2 separate regions of the Homo sapiens genome follow, and region 2 is linked to region 1. Evidence: promoter capture Hi-C in human tissues and cell types (Jung and others, 2019). All regions are on one chromosome and are shown on one strand. Each heading gives the region's core, a stretch centred on a gene start or on the middle of the fragment in contact. The rest is flanking DNA. Distances are from core to core; before and after follow the strand shown. Region 1 holds the start of PCDHAC2 (protocadherin alpha subfamily C, 2). Region 2 overlaps PCDHA1 (protocadherin alpha 1).

Region 1 (6,584 bases), core at 3,277-5,776:
CTCGGCTCACTGCAACCTCCGCCTCCTGGGTTCACGCCATTGTCCTGCCTCAGCTTCCCGAGTAGCTGGGACTACAGGCACCCACCACCATGCCTGGCTAATTTTTTTGTATTTTTTAGTAGAGACGGGGTTTCACCATGTTAGCCAGGATGGTCTCGATCTCCTAACCTTGGCCTCGGCCTCCCAAAGTGCTGGGATTACAGGCGTGAGCCACCACACCCGGCCACTTATATCACTTTTATGCTTCCTATCTCCTTATTGATCTTGAGGTTCAAGTTTCACTTAACCATTTTCTTCAATGAAAAATAATTTTATAATTTAAAAAACCTCAACCTTTAATATTCTATGATTCTTGTTAGGCCATCTCAATTGAGAATACTGATAAAGAAGTAAAACTCCCCCCAATACTGGCTAGTTTGATTTTATCTGTTAATATTACGCAATCTGCCCCAAACCTGTCTCTCCCTTTTTATTGTTACTTATCCAAAGATGGCTTGAATCTCTTATGGCTTGAATCTCTTTGTTTATTCTAAGCAATTTTCAGACACCTCAGCCAACTATCAATAATATATTAGTTTTTTAGAACTAAAAATGTAGAGGATCTCCCCCTAAAAGCCAATTGTTAATGCCAAATATTTGACTGATATATTTCTTCTGGAGGAAGGGAGATGTGAAAAAATTTAGCCATCAAGTTATGTGAAAACTTTTTCATCTTCCCATCCACTGGATGTTTTATCTGTAAATAATGCTATAATCATATTGGAAAGTATTTTCCTTCTGGGGATGCATGAAGATCAGGAATCCTATTCGTTTTTAACAAGATGGAATTTTTAAAAACTACTTTGGACAACTCTAAACATCAGAGATGACCATTTGTCTCTTTTTTATTATATAACTTGTGCTCGGTTTGTAGAGCAACATAAATACATGAATTAAAAAATGAAAACTAGCTCCTTCCCTATTTGACAGATACTTCTCAACCTCCTCTCCATAAGATATGCTCTATCCCTATATAGGAAATTTTTCTGTAGCAGCTTGAGTTTACTAAAAATAAGATCTGAAGAAAATGAAGCAATTAACATTTATTGAGAGTCTATAAGGGTTTCTACATTGTGAAGGAGACAGAAATATAAGACATGGCTCCTGCTTTCAGGTTGCTTATAATTAAAGAGATAATATTAAATTATTTGGATGAATTTAAAAATGACACATGCCATCTTACAGATATGCTGTAGACTGTGAAAATGAAAAAAAAAACCTCGTGTTTAGAGTAGACACTGTTTGATGGATTAGGTAGGTTTTCATCTGGACTTTGAAATGTATGTAAGATTTTATAAGGAGGAGAGAAAATAAGAAGCTGTTTGTATTAGAATTACACAGATAAATTTGTAAATTTAGTTCTTTTCAAAGAACATTAATTGAGCACCTCTGTGCCAAGCTCCCTACTGGATGCTGTAGATTACAGCATGTTTAGGAACTAACTTCATACTCTGTTGCTAAAGTATTTCTGTGTTTTCTAAAAAGGTAAATCTCTTGTGAGGAAACAAATCTCTTGAAGGGGTTCTCATAACAGAAGTCCCATTTACTTCATGATATAAAAAGGGGCTGTTTTCTGGTTTTGTTCTCAAAATGTAGGATATAGTTCTAGACGTAATTGGGAAAGCTTAACTTTGTTGCATACGCATCTTCCCTATCATGGTTGATTTCCTATATGGCATAGTTAAATGTGTTTATCCGTGTTTGATATCTAAAGGGCCATGCTACATATAGACTGCCAACTAAGGTTTTATCTGATGATAATAAATTGTTGTATTTCATGACGACAGCAACAACAACAATAATGTACTTAACTAGTCACTGTGCAAATTGCTTTACATACATTTTCTCATGTAATCATAATAATAACCGTATGAGTTTTGCTTACTATTGTTTTCCTTAATTAAAATGAGTAAAGTGAAGCTTAGGCTAAGTAACATGTCCATAGCCAAACAGTTAGTCACTGGCAGGAGTGTGACTGACTCCAAAGTCTATATTCCTAATTACTGTGTTCTACTTTTTAATAGAGAGCTCTTGAAGGTCCAAGGAAAGGAATGCATAATGGTGTGGTCAAGGCATTAGTGTTAATATTTGTAGAAAGGGTAATTAACAACAGTCTGAGCAATCACATTCTAACAACTAGTAAGGTTGGCAGGAGCCTCAGTATAATGGTGTGAGGAACGAAATCATTATAGTGCCAAATAGAGTATACCATCTCTTTAGTACAATGTCTTTCAAAATGAGGCTGATTGTGTTGGCTTTATATTTGACTCCTTAATAATTAAGGCAGTAAATTCTAGCTGGAGCTAAATACCTACAAGGCCTAAAACAGCATAATGGACAACCTGGCAGGTGTCCTTGCTGGAAGATGACAAGAGTGCTGAAAGGAGAGTCCTGGTTTTTCTCCCAAGACATGACATTTGGGGGCTTCCATTAAAAAATTACCAAGCCTCTGCCACTGTAATCTCTTCCTTAAGTGCCTATGATTTTTTCACAGTCACAGGTCTATGCCTGGTCAATACCCAGTGGCCAGGTCTCTGAGCTGCGTGCAGAGATGGCAGCGACTTGGAGGGCTGGGAGGAGATAAGGGGAGGAAAGATCACTTTTCATGACAACTTACAACTTGATTCCACTTATAAGCCATTTATTTTCAGAAACAAGTAATGGGTGAGGACACAGGCCAGGTCCACAATTTGTGCACTTGAGAGATTAAGGCCTCCGAGATCAAATTACCACAGCAAACTGAGACAGAATTATTGTAGGGATGTTTGGGGAGGATGCAGAGAGAAGAGGAAGAAGCCAGAGACCCAAGAAAGGAGACAGGAATAGATTTTGATGAAAATTGCTTCCTACTCTGTACCCTTGAGGAAACAAAGAGGACAAATAAGAAGCAGCAGTGATAGGAGGCTGGGCGCTTCTCTGGAATAACACTGGCTAGGTAGTGGAGCATTGATAGTGAGTGTGCTTGGTTGGTGGAACGAAGGGATGTGCTAGTTCAGGCCTTTGAATTCTGGGTGTCAGGATCACAACCTTGGCTCCTTTAACTGTCCGCTCTAGGAGGGAAGCATGCCAAATGTCAGGTCTCACTCTGACTTTGTTCCAGTCCATAGCTAGAAAATGACCCATAGAGGAAGATCTACAGATGACAGAATACTGGGAGATGAAGAGAAAGGACGTTTTAGTGAGTGCTTTTTTTGCACATGAGGCAATAGATTTCAAATTCCTGTGGAAGAAATGTGAGAACCTGGGAAGAGTGAATATTCAGAACTGAGCAGCAGAGGCAATGACACAGCATGGAAAGATTTCCTCTGATCCTTCTACCTTCTCTTTTACTGAAGTGAATTTGTTGTCTCTGTGTTGCCTCTATAGCAGTACAAGAGGAAACTTGGGGACACAGAAGAACAGAAGTCTAAGGAGTCTTATATTTAAGGAAGATAAGCTGCAGTCATTGAAATTGCTGGTTATTGTAAGATAAATCCCAGACTCCCACATTTTGCTTAATGACAGCAGATTTTTTTTTTTTTTTAACTGCAAAGCATTAATGGAATCCAAATTCCAGCCTGGCTTAGGAGATCAACAGTAACGCTCTTGATTTAATGGTTTTGCAGACTCTTGAAGACATTGTCATCCATTAAAGAAAAAATTTTAAATTACTCTTGAAAGAAAATGTCTTGGGTGATAAATGTAAAAGATTTGAAGCAAGATTAGAAAAAGCTTGAGAGAAGAATCTCTTTAAAAATTTTACCAGATTTTCCCCATTGTCGCCAAAATGGGTCAAATAATAGATTTGCCTACAGCTTCATGGAGACTATTTTTTTAAACAGAGCATTTTAAACATTTAAATATTGGTTATTTGCCAAGGCACACACTGAAAATAAGGGCCACTTGGCCGAGAGCAGAATTGAGTCTTGGATCCCAGGATGCTGGTTTTAGGCTTGCTCCCGGAAAGAGGGCAGCATTTGCCATCCCCCTCCTTTTGCCCTAGGAGTTGAGCACTTTCTGCAGTACTTAAGAGTGTCCAGGGAAGATGTGGGAGTCAGGTGAATAGTTCCCATCGCCAGTAACCCCAGAGCGCCTCCCCCTGCGTTGTTTCCTTTTAATGTTAGATCCGCCGCCTGGGTGCCCATACTTAGCTAAGGCCCCTCAGTTTATTTTCCTGAATTGCGCTTGGAGATCTTTTCCTGGGGAGCTGATAGCCAGACTTCTAGGGGCTTGACTGCTTTTCCCAGACTAATCTCCTTAAAGACCCGTTAAGCAGGGGAGAGACGGTGGAGACTGGATGAACTGGACAGTGGGGGTAGGGAGAAAGGGAGTGGCCGTGTTCCTGCGGTCCGCTGGGATCCGGCAGGTCCAGGGTGAAGGAGATGGGGCTGGAGAGGCTGAGCAGTCCGGGTTCGCTGTCCGCCACTTCGGCGCGGAATCAGAGCAGGACTTGCTGAGCCCTCCTACCGCTCCCTTTCCCCCTCCCCCTCTGTCTTCCCTTCTGTTTCCTTTTCCCTCCCCCTGGAGCTGTAGCGGCAGCAGCAGCAGGAAGCCGAGCCGGGTTGAGCGACTCGGAGGCGAGCGGAGGAGCTGGAATATGGGGAGTCAGCGAGGACGGTGGGGCCAGGAGCCCTTGGGAGGGCCTACGGAGGGAGCGGCCCCAGGCGCTTTCTAGAGCGTGAGCGGTGGGGGAGCAGGCGCAGGGTGGCACGAGCGGAGGCGGGGCCCGGGCGTGGGGCACGGCTGGGGAAGCTGCCGCCTCCGGCCCTGCCCGGCTGCCTCCGCCGCGGCCAGTGGCTATGGAGCAGGCGGGCACCAGACCTGCGGCGACAGAGCATCCACGGCTCCGGCGGCCCATGCCCTGGCTGCTGCTACTGCCTCTCCTGCTGCTGTTGCTGCTGCTGCTACCTGGCCCTGCGGCCTCCCAGCTGCGATACTCTGTGCCAGAGGAGCAGGCACCCGGCGCGCTCGTGGGCAACGTGGCTCGCGCGCTGGGGCTTGAGCTGCGGCGCTTGGGGCCGGGTTGCTTGCGCATCAACCATCTGGGTGCGCCCAGTCCGCGCTACCTGGAGCTGGACCTGACGAGTGGAGCGCTCTTCGTCAACGAGCGCATTGATCGGGAGGCGCTGTGTGAGCAGCGGCCTCGCTGCCTGCTCAGCTTGGAAGTGCTGGCGCACAACCCCGTGGCGGTGAGCGCCGTTGAGGTGGAAATATTGGACATCAACGACAACTCACCGCGTTTCCCGCGGCCCAACTACCAGCTTCAGGTAAGCGAATCGGTGGCGCCTGGAGCGCGCTTTCACATAGAGAGTGCGCAGGACCCCGACGTGGGCGCCAACTCAGTACAGACCTACGAGCTCAGCCCCAGCGAGCACTTCGAGCTGGACCTTAAGCCCCTGCAGGAGAACAGTAAAGTGCTTGAGCTGGTGCTGCGTAAGGGCCTAGACCGGGAGCAGGCAGCCTTGCACCACCTGGTTCTCACAGCCGTGGATGGGGGCATCCCAGCCCGCTCGGGTACGGCACAGATCTCTGTGCGTGTCCTGGACACTAACGACAACTCTCCTGCCTTTGACCAGTCCACTTATCGCGTCCAGCTACGGGAGGACTCACCCCCAGGCACATTGGTGGTGAAGCTGAATGCCTCAGACCCGGATGAGGGCTCCAATGGTGAGCTCAGGTACTCCTTGAGCAGCTACACGTCGGACCGGGAGAGGCAGCTCTTCAGCATAGATGCCAGTACCGGGGAAGTGCGAGTAATTGGGGGGCTGGATTATGAGGAAGCCTCCTCCTACCAGATCTATGTGCAGGCGACTGACCGGGGTCCAGTGCCCATGGCAGGTCACTGCAAGGTGCTGGTGGACATCGTGGACGTGAATGACAATGCCCCAGAGGTGGTGCTCACGGACCTGTATAGCCCAGTGCCTGAGAATGCTACACCCAACACCATTGTGGCCGTTCTCAGTGTCAATGACCAAGACTCAGGCCCCAACCGGAAAGTGAGCCTGGGTCTGGAGGCCACACTGCCTTTCCGACTGAATGGCTTTGGAAACTCCTATACACTGGTGGTGAGCGGCCCACTGGACCGAGAGCGGGTGGCTGTCTACAACATCACGGTGACAGCCACAGATGGGGGAATACCGCAGCTCACATCCCTGCGTACACTGAAGGTTGAGATCTCTGACATCAATGACAATCCACCAAGCTTCCTGGAGGACTCCTATTCCATCTACATACAGGAGAACAATTTGCCAGGTGTGTTGCTCTGTACTGTGCAAGCCACAGACCCAGATGAAAAGGAGAATGCAGAGGTGACCTACTCCCTTCTGGAGAGGGAGATTCAAGGGCTGCCAGTCACCTCCTATGTCTCCATTAACAGTGCCAGTGGCAGCCTTTATGCTGTCAACTCCTTTGACTATGAGAAGTTTCGGGAGTTCTTTGTGACTGTGGAGGCTCAGGACAAGGGGAGCCCACCACTGAGCAGCACTGTGACTGCCAACGTATATGTGGTGGACATGAATGACCATGCCCCTCACATTCTGTACCCTACCTCAACCAACTCGTCAGCA
Region 2 (6,575 bases), core at 2,032-4,531, 40 kb after region 1:
GGCTGGAGTGCAGTGGTGCAATCTCAGCTCACTGAAACCTCCGCCTCCCGGGTTCGAGTGATTCTTATGCCTCAGCCTCCCAAGTAGATGAAATTACAGGCGTGCACCACCACAGTCTCGCTAATTTTTATAGTTTTAGTAGAGATGGGGTTTCACCATGTTCCCTAGGCTGGTCTTGAACTCCTGGCTTCAAGTGATCCACCTGCCTCAGACTCCCAAAGTGCTGGGATTTTAGATGTGAGCCACCATTCCCGGCCCCAGAGGGCAGTTTTTAAAGTAGAAGTGAAGATCTGTATGCATTTATTAAAATATATGTTGTTCTGATTTTAAAATATATCCCTACCAATTGTGAAGATATCGGCTAATCCAATAAAAAAGCAAAACCATATTTTGTATAATTATGGTCGTATTCTGTTAAATAAACTTTTAAATCCTATTGGGTTGTAATCTGTAGTCTGGGAAGGGCTCTGCCTAACGATTCAGACCCCTACCAGATTTATATGTGTCTGAAATCCTCCTTCTAGCCTCTTAACAGGCCCATTCATTTGGGTCTTGACTGCATCCTCAGTCTTGTCTTTGCCTGAGGGTGAGCTAGGACCCTGGGAGCATAAGGGAGGGGACTTGCCGGAGATCCTAGAAGGGAAAGGAGGCAGCACTGAAAGAAGAAACATTTCCTTGATTGATCATTTGCTGATACTGGCCCCTGGTTGGGGTTAGGGGTAGAAATGTGCTTCTTCCGTTTTCATCTTCTTCAAAAGGGAGTATCTCCATGATTCTGCCCCAAAGGCATGACATTTTATAGGCAAAGCCAGCCAAGTGTCTTGAGTGCTCTTAACCAAAAGGAATTCAGATTAGGAGGTCAGTCAGTGTTTGTCAGATCCTTAAGCTTTTGTTTTACTGGAATGAGTCACAGTCTACATGCTGCTGAGCTCTCAGAGATGTTTGTTTTATACAACAACCAGAACAGGTGAGGCACAGTGGTCTGTGAGGGACTGGAGAGACCACACCTTGTTCTGCTCTGCGGAAGCTGGACATGTGGAGGAGGCACCTGACTAGATCTCTGCCTCCTGGAGTTTAGGCTGAGTCATATAGAACCAGGAAGCTCAGTGACATGTTAAAGTGGATTAACTCTTGGCAGTCCTGCTGTGAGGGGCTCCCTCTGCCAATACACACAGCCATTAATGTCCTTTAACTGTGCAAGATGAACATATCTCTGTGTTCTGCATCTCCAGATGACAGTGCTTAGGCCTCATGCAGAGTCCTGGTTATGGTTGAAGAAAAATTTCCATTTTGGGCTCTGAGGGCAACTAAAGGACTGTGGAGTGGTGCTGAAACCCAGTTTTAGGTGCCGAATCAGAGGTTTTTAAATACATTTCTCTCTTTTGTCTCAGTCTCTTAGAGACAGGACCTGTATTTTAAAGGTAAACAGGCAGATTCTGGCTGAGCTCAATTGCAGATTTGATTAACTTAGATAGATCAAAGTCATTAGTCTCAGAGAAAAAATTTGTTTCTCATCCCTAAAGTGCTATTGTGTCAGCTCTGCCAGGGTGTAAGGAAAAGGGTTTGGAAGAGAGAAGAAAATTTCTTACCCTCTCTCGTCACTGCCTGCTGTAAATTTGCAGTATCATTATCTTGGTCTCCTAAGCCCTGAGAGCTGCATTATATATAATTGCCCATATGTGATACCATTTACTGAATTCTTGCATTGTGCTAAGGATCAAGCTTAGTACTTTACATGCATTACATCATTGTCTTTAGGGACCCCAAAAGTGCCTCATTGGAGAGTTGTTTGGTCTGCTAAAGAGTGGGTACCACTTTCACTTCTCACATCAGTCCTTTCATTCATTCATCCAGCAAGTATTTACTAAACACCTGTTATGGGCCAGGAATTGTGCTAGGCACTGGTGATACATTGGTGAATAAACAGATACATTTTTTGCCTTTGTGAATCTTACAGTGGTAGAGAATAATAGGCCAAGGGGGTGCTGCTTGGCTAGGAATGTCATAGAATGCCTTTCCAAGGAGGTTACATTTAATACAGACTTGAAGAGTGAGGAGTCATGCTAAGAATGGATGAGAGGCTCACGCCTGTAATCCCAGCACTTTGGGAGGCCGAGACGGGCGGATCATGAGGTCAGGAGATCGAGACCATCCTGGCTAACACGGTGAAACCCCGTCTCTACTAAAAATACAAAAATTAGCCGGGCATGGTGGCGCGTGCCTGTAGTCCCAGCTACACAGGAGGCTGAGGCAGGAGAATGGCGTGAACCCGGGAGGCGGAGCTTGCAGTGAGTCGAGATCGCGCCACTGCACTCCAGCCTGGGCGACAGAGCGAAACTCCGTCTCAAAAAAAAAAAAAAAAAAAAAAAAAAAAAAGAATGGATGAGAAATCATTCAAGACAAAAGCAAACCAGATGTGTAAAGATCCTGAGGCAAAAACAACTCCAAGGAGCCAGGTATGGTGGCCTGTAGTCCCAGCCACTTGGGAGGCTGAGACAGGAGGGTCGATTGAGTCCAGGAGTTTGAGGTTACATCAAGCAATGATTGCACCACTGCACTTCAGCCTGGTTGACAGAGTGAGAACCTATCTCTAACAAACAACAATAAAAAAACAATTCCAAAGAGTGTTTGAGGATCTGAAAGAAGGCCTGTATGGTTGGAGTATAATAGTAAGAGGGAGATTTGTAGATGAGAGTGGAGAAGAAATAAAAATCAGATTATTGAAGGGACTTATGTATCATGGTAAGGAGTTTTTTTTTTTTTTCTCAAGGCAGTAGAAAGCTTAAGCAGAGGAGTGATATAATCTGATTTATATTTTTAAAAGAGTTTGCTATATGTATGTTATGCCTCATTTTTTTTTAAATTTTTTATTTTTAGATGGAGTCTTGCTCTGTTGCCCAGGCTGGACTGCAGTGGCACGATCTCAGCTCACTGCAAGCTCCACTTCCCGGGTTCATGCCATTCTCCTGCCTCAGCCTCCTGAGTAGCTGGGACTATAGGCGCCCACCACCACGCCCGGCTAAGTTTTTTCTATTTTTTAGTAGAGACGCGGTTTCACTGTGTTAGCCAGGATGGTCTCAATCTCCTGACCTCGAGATCTGCCTGTCTCGGCCTCCCAAAGTGCTGGGATTACATGTGTGAGCCACCGCGCCTGGCTGTTATACATCAGTTTTTAAAGAGAGACATTAAGAAATAAAGATGACTCTGGCTACTGTGTGGAGGGTTGGAGAGAAGCAAAAGTGGAAGCAGACTGAATAAGGAGACTATTGCTGCAATTCATATAAGAGATGATGGTGTCCTGAAAGAGTGGTGGCAGTGAAAATTGGGAGAAGAGGACAGAGTCAAGATATATTTAGGAGGCAGAAATGACAGGTCTTGATGATGTATTATAAATGGAGAATGAAGAATAGAATAGAGAAAAATGAATAATTAGCTTTGAACTTTCTGGCTTGAGAAATGGGGTAAATGGGGTGTAATTTACTGAAACTGGAAAGATTTAGAAAGGAATAGATTCGAGGAATCAAGAGTTTGATTTCAGATTTCTTCAGTTTGGGATGCCCATGAGATTTCCAACTGGGGATACCAGATAGGCAGTTATACATGAGATTGGAGCACAGAGAGATGTGGGCTTAAAATATAAGTCTGCATCTCATCAGCTTATTCATATGGTATTTATATCTATGGATATGGCTGAGATCCCAAAAGGAGAGAGTGAAGAGAAAATAGAGAAGAGAGTCTAGGGCCAAACCCAAGGAAGCTTCAACACACAGATGAGGAGACTGACAAAGGAAACTGTCAAAGAACAGTCAGAGAGAAAGGTCAGGAGAATGTTTTGATGGTGGGGGCCAGAATATGCTGTCCCAAAATAAGAAGGATTGTTGAGCTGAAGGCAAGTTAAAAGAAGCAGATACAGGCTGGGTGCAGTGGGCTCATGCCTGTAATCTTAGCATTTTGGGAGGCTAAAGTGGACAGATTGCCTGAGCTCAGGAGTTCGAGACCAGCCTGGGCAACATGATGGAACACCATCTCTACTAAAATACAAAAAAAAAAAAAAAAAAAAAAATTAGCCAGGCATGGTGGCATGTGCCTGTAGTCCCAGCTACTCAGGAGGCTGAGGCACGAGAATTACTTGGACCTAGGAGGCAGAGACTGCAGTGAGCTGATATCTCGCCACTGCACTCCAGCTTGGGCAACAGAGCAAGGCTCTATCTCAAATTTAAAAAATAATAATCATGATAATAATAAAAGAAGCAGATATAGGAGAGGTCTTCTGCCCTCCCTGTATTTGCCTAAAAAACCATAAATTTACAAAGACAAAAGTTATCCTACTTCCACCTCCCTCCTCTGCCTCCCACCACCAGGGAGAACAAAGGTTAACCACTGAAGATAACTTTGGACTCTTATTGGCCTGGAAATGGTACTGCTTTACAAATTAGCCTTTATCTGCCATTCATTTGCCTTCCCCCAAGTAGCTACCCATTAGAGACTCAAAGTCCTTAAAGGTCTTTTCCTTTGTCTTACACTTCTTTAAAAATTTATTGTTCTTTGTTGAAGATGCTATATAAGCTGGAATTCTAAGCCACCTTTTTGAGAACTGCTCATTCTCTGGGTGTCTGTCATGTATATATGAAATGTACATGTTAATAAACTTCTGTTTCCTTTTTTTTCTTGTTAATCTGCCTTTTGTAACAGGGGTCCAGTCCATCTAAGAACTTATTGGGGTTATTCTACATGACAAAGAACTCATGAGAATAAGTGTTTCAAGAAGGGGATGACAAATGCTGCTGAGAGGTTTGATAAGATGAGGACTAAAATGTGACCATTGATTGTGGAAGTAATATAATGAACTTGACATGAGTTATGTTAGAAAATTACTGCTCAGGGACACCAAATTAGAGGAGACTGAGAAGTAATAGGAAATTGAAATAGCAGTTGTACCCAACCCTAAACTGTAATTGAACATAAACAGTTTATTTGATGGAGCTTTTCACGTGTCAACCAAAGGAGCAGTGTTAGATACATAAACATTGCTATGATGTCAGAGTTCCAATGTCATGGCCACTGGGATCACTTTGCCCAGACAGACCATTACCCTTCCTCTCCAGCTCTGACTTCTACTCTTCTAGAAGTCACTGGTATACTTTATGGTGTGTCTTCCAATCAGACTCTTGGGAATGTCTTTTATTGAAAACTCCTGTGGATGCATAATCATTTTCCCAAGACTCAGGGCAGATTTCACCTCCTCTGGAACCCCATTAACTTTCTCAAGTATAATTAACAATTTCTTCTTCTGGAGTCCCACAATACTTTACATATACTTTAGTTATTGCATGTATTAAGTTGGTTTCTAGTTGCTTGAGTGTATGTCCAACTAGACTGTGAGCACACTGAGGGAAGGAATTTGGCTTGGAAAGTAAAATTGGCTCCCAGTGTTTTATCTAAACAAATAGGCTCAATTTACAACAGGATTCCATCCTCTTACGCTGTGTATTCCCATCTCTTCCATGCTGCATCCCACCACCCTTCAATGTTATTACAATAAAATTAAGATCAAATAATTTATTCAGCTAATTTTTCTTGTTTTGGACAAAATAGACATCCTAATACATTTATAGCCAAAGTTTAATCTAGACACTAAAAGGAGCATATTTTGCCTTTAGGCTCTGTATTTCCCATCCCGTTCCCAGTCAAGATAATCACAACTGTATTCTTTAGGAAATTCTTCACAAAGAACCAAACATATGTTACTATGAAACTAGATTCTTGGTATCCTGGTGAAAAAACCTGCCCTCTTGCTTGTCTGTAAATACTGGCCTTGGCTGGGTGTGGTAGCTCATGTCTATGATTCCAACACTTTGGGAGGCCAAGGTGGGAGGATCTCTTGAGCTTCAGTGTTTGAGACCAGCCTGGGCAACATAGTGAGATCCCATTTCTATAAAATTTTTTTTAAAAAGCTAGCCTGGCATGGGAGCTTGTGCCTGTAGTTCCAGCTACTTGGGAGGCTAAGATGGGAGGATTGATTGAGCACAGGAGGTCGAGGCTGCAGTGACTGCATTTCAGCCTGGGTGACAGAGGGAAATCCTGTCTCAAAAAAATTAAACAAATAAATAAATAAGTAAACACTTGCCTTGCCCTCAGACTTGAACAAACAACTCGTGATTTTTCTGGGGAGGTTCAGCCTGCCTATGCAGTACTCCTGTACTCTACCAGCAGTGTGGCATCAAGAGCATGTGTTGACCCTGTTAATGATTTGTAATGTTTTGTCTTTCAGAACCAGAGGCAGGAGAAGTGTCCCCTCCAGTCGGTGCGGGTGTCAACAGCAACAGCTGGACCTTTAAATACGGACCAGGCAACCCCAAACAATCCGGTCCCGGTGAGTTGCCCGACAAATTCATTATCCCAGGATCTCCTGCAATCATCTCCATCCGGCAGGAGCCTACTAACAGCCAAATTGACAAAAGTGACTTCATAACCTTCGGCAAAAAGGAGGAGACCAAGAAAAAGAAGAAAAAGAAGAAGGGTAACAAGACCCAGGAGAAAAAAGAGAAAGGGAACAGCACGACTGACAACAGTGA

What was found. Contacts are between HindIII fragments. The study calls those that stand out against the background at their distance.
Region 2: a contact is called between a fragment that was not itself captured here and the fragment with the promoter of PCDHAC2 in region 1, in 1 of the 25 tissues and cell types used here (dorsolateral prefrontal cortex).

Annotation. Positions count from the first base shown.
Region 1 is chr5:140,961,950-140,968,533 of GRCh38, forward strand. It overlaps PCDHAC2 (protocadherin alpha subfamily C, 2), which reads left to right and starts at 4,527. Exons shown (of 4, transcript NM_018899.6): 1 at 4,527-6,584. The coding sequence starts at 4,818. The region is part of intron 1 of PCDHA1 (protocadherin alpha 1); the gene reads left to right. All of the region lies in intron 1 of PCDHA2 (protocadherin alpha 2), which reads left to right. The region is part of intron 1 of PCDHA3 (protocadherin alpha 3); the gene reads left to right. It also overlaps PCDHA4, PCDHA5, PCDHA6, PCDHA7, PCDHA8 and PCDHA9, and 6 more genes. The HindIII fragment of the contact is 4,896 bases long and covers 2,855-6,584 here.
Region 2 is chr5:141,003,356-141,009,930 of GRCh38, forward strand. PCDHA1 (protocadherin alpha 1) reads left to right here. Exons shown (of 4, transcript NM_018900.4): 4 at 6,272-6,575. PCDHA2 (protocadherin alpha 2) reads left to right here. Exons shown (of 4, transcript NM_018905.3): 4 at 6,272-6,575. PCDHA3 (protocadherin alpha 3) reads left to right here. Exons shown (of 4, transcript NM_018906.3): 4 at 6,272-6,575. It overlaps PCDHA4 (protocadherin alpha 4), which reads left to right. Exons shown (of 4, transcript NM_018907.4): 4 at 6,272-6,575. It also overlaps PCDHA5, PCDHA6, PCDHA7, PCDHA8, PCDHA9 and PCDHA10, and 7 more genes. Among named protein-coding and RNA genes, the nearest start is that of PCDHAC2, 40 kb to the left of the region's middle. RefSeq lists an enhancer at 949-1,541. The HindIII fragment of the contact is 3,954 bases long and covers 1,305-5,258 here.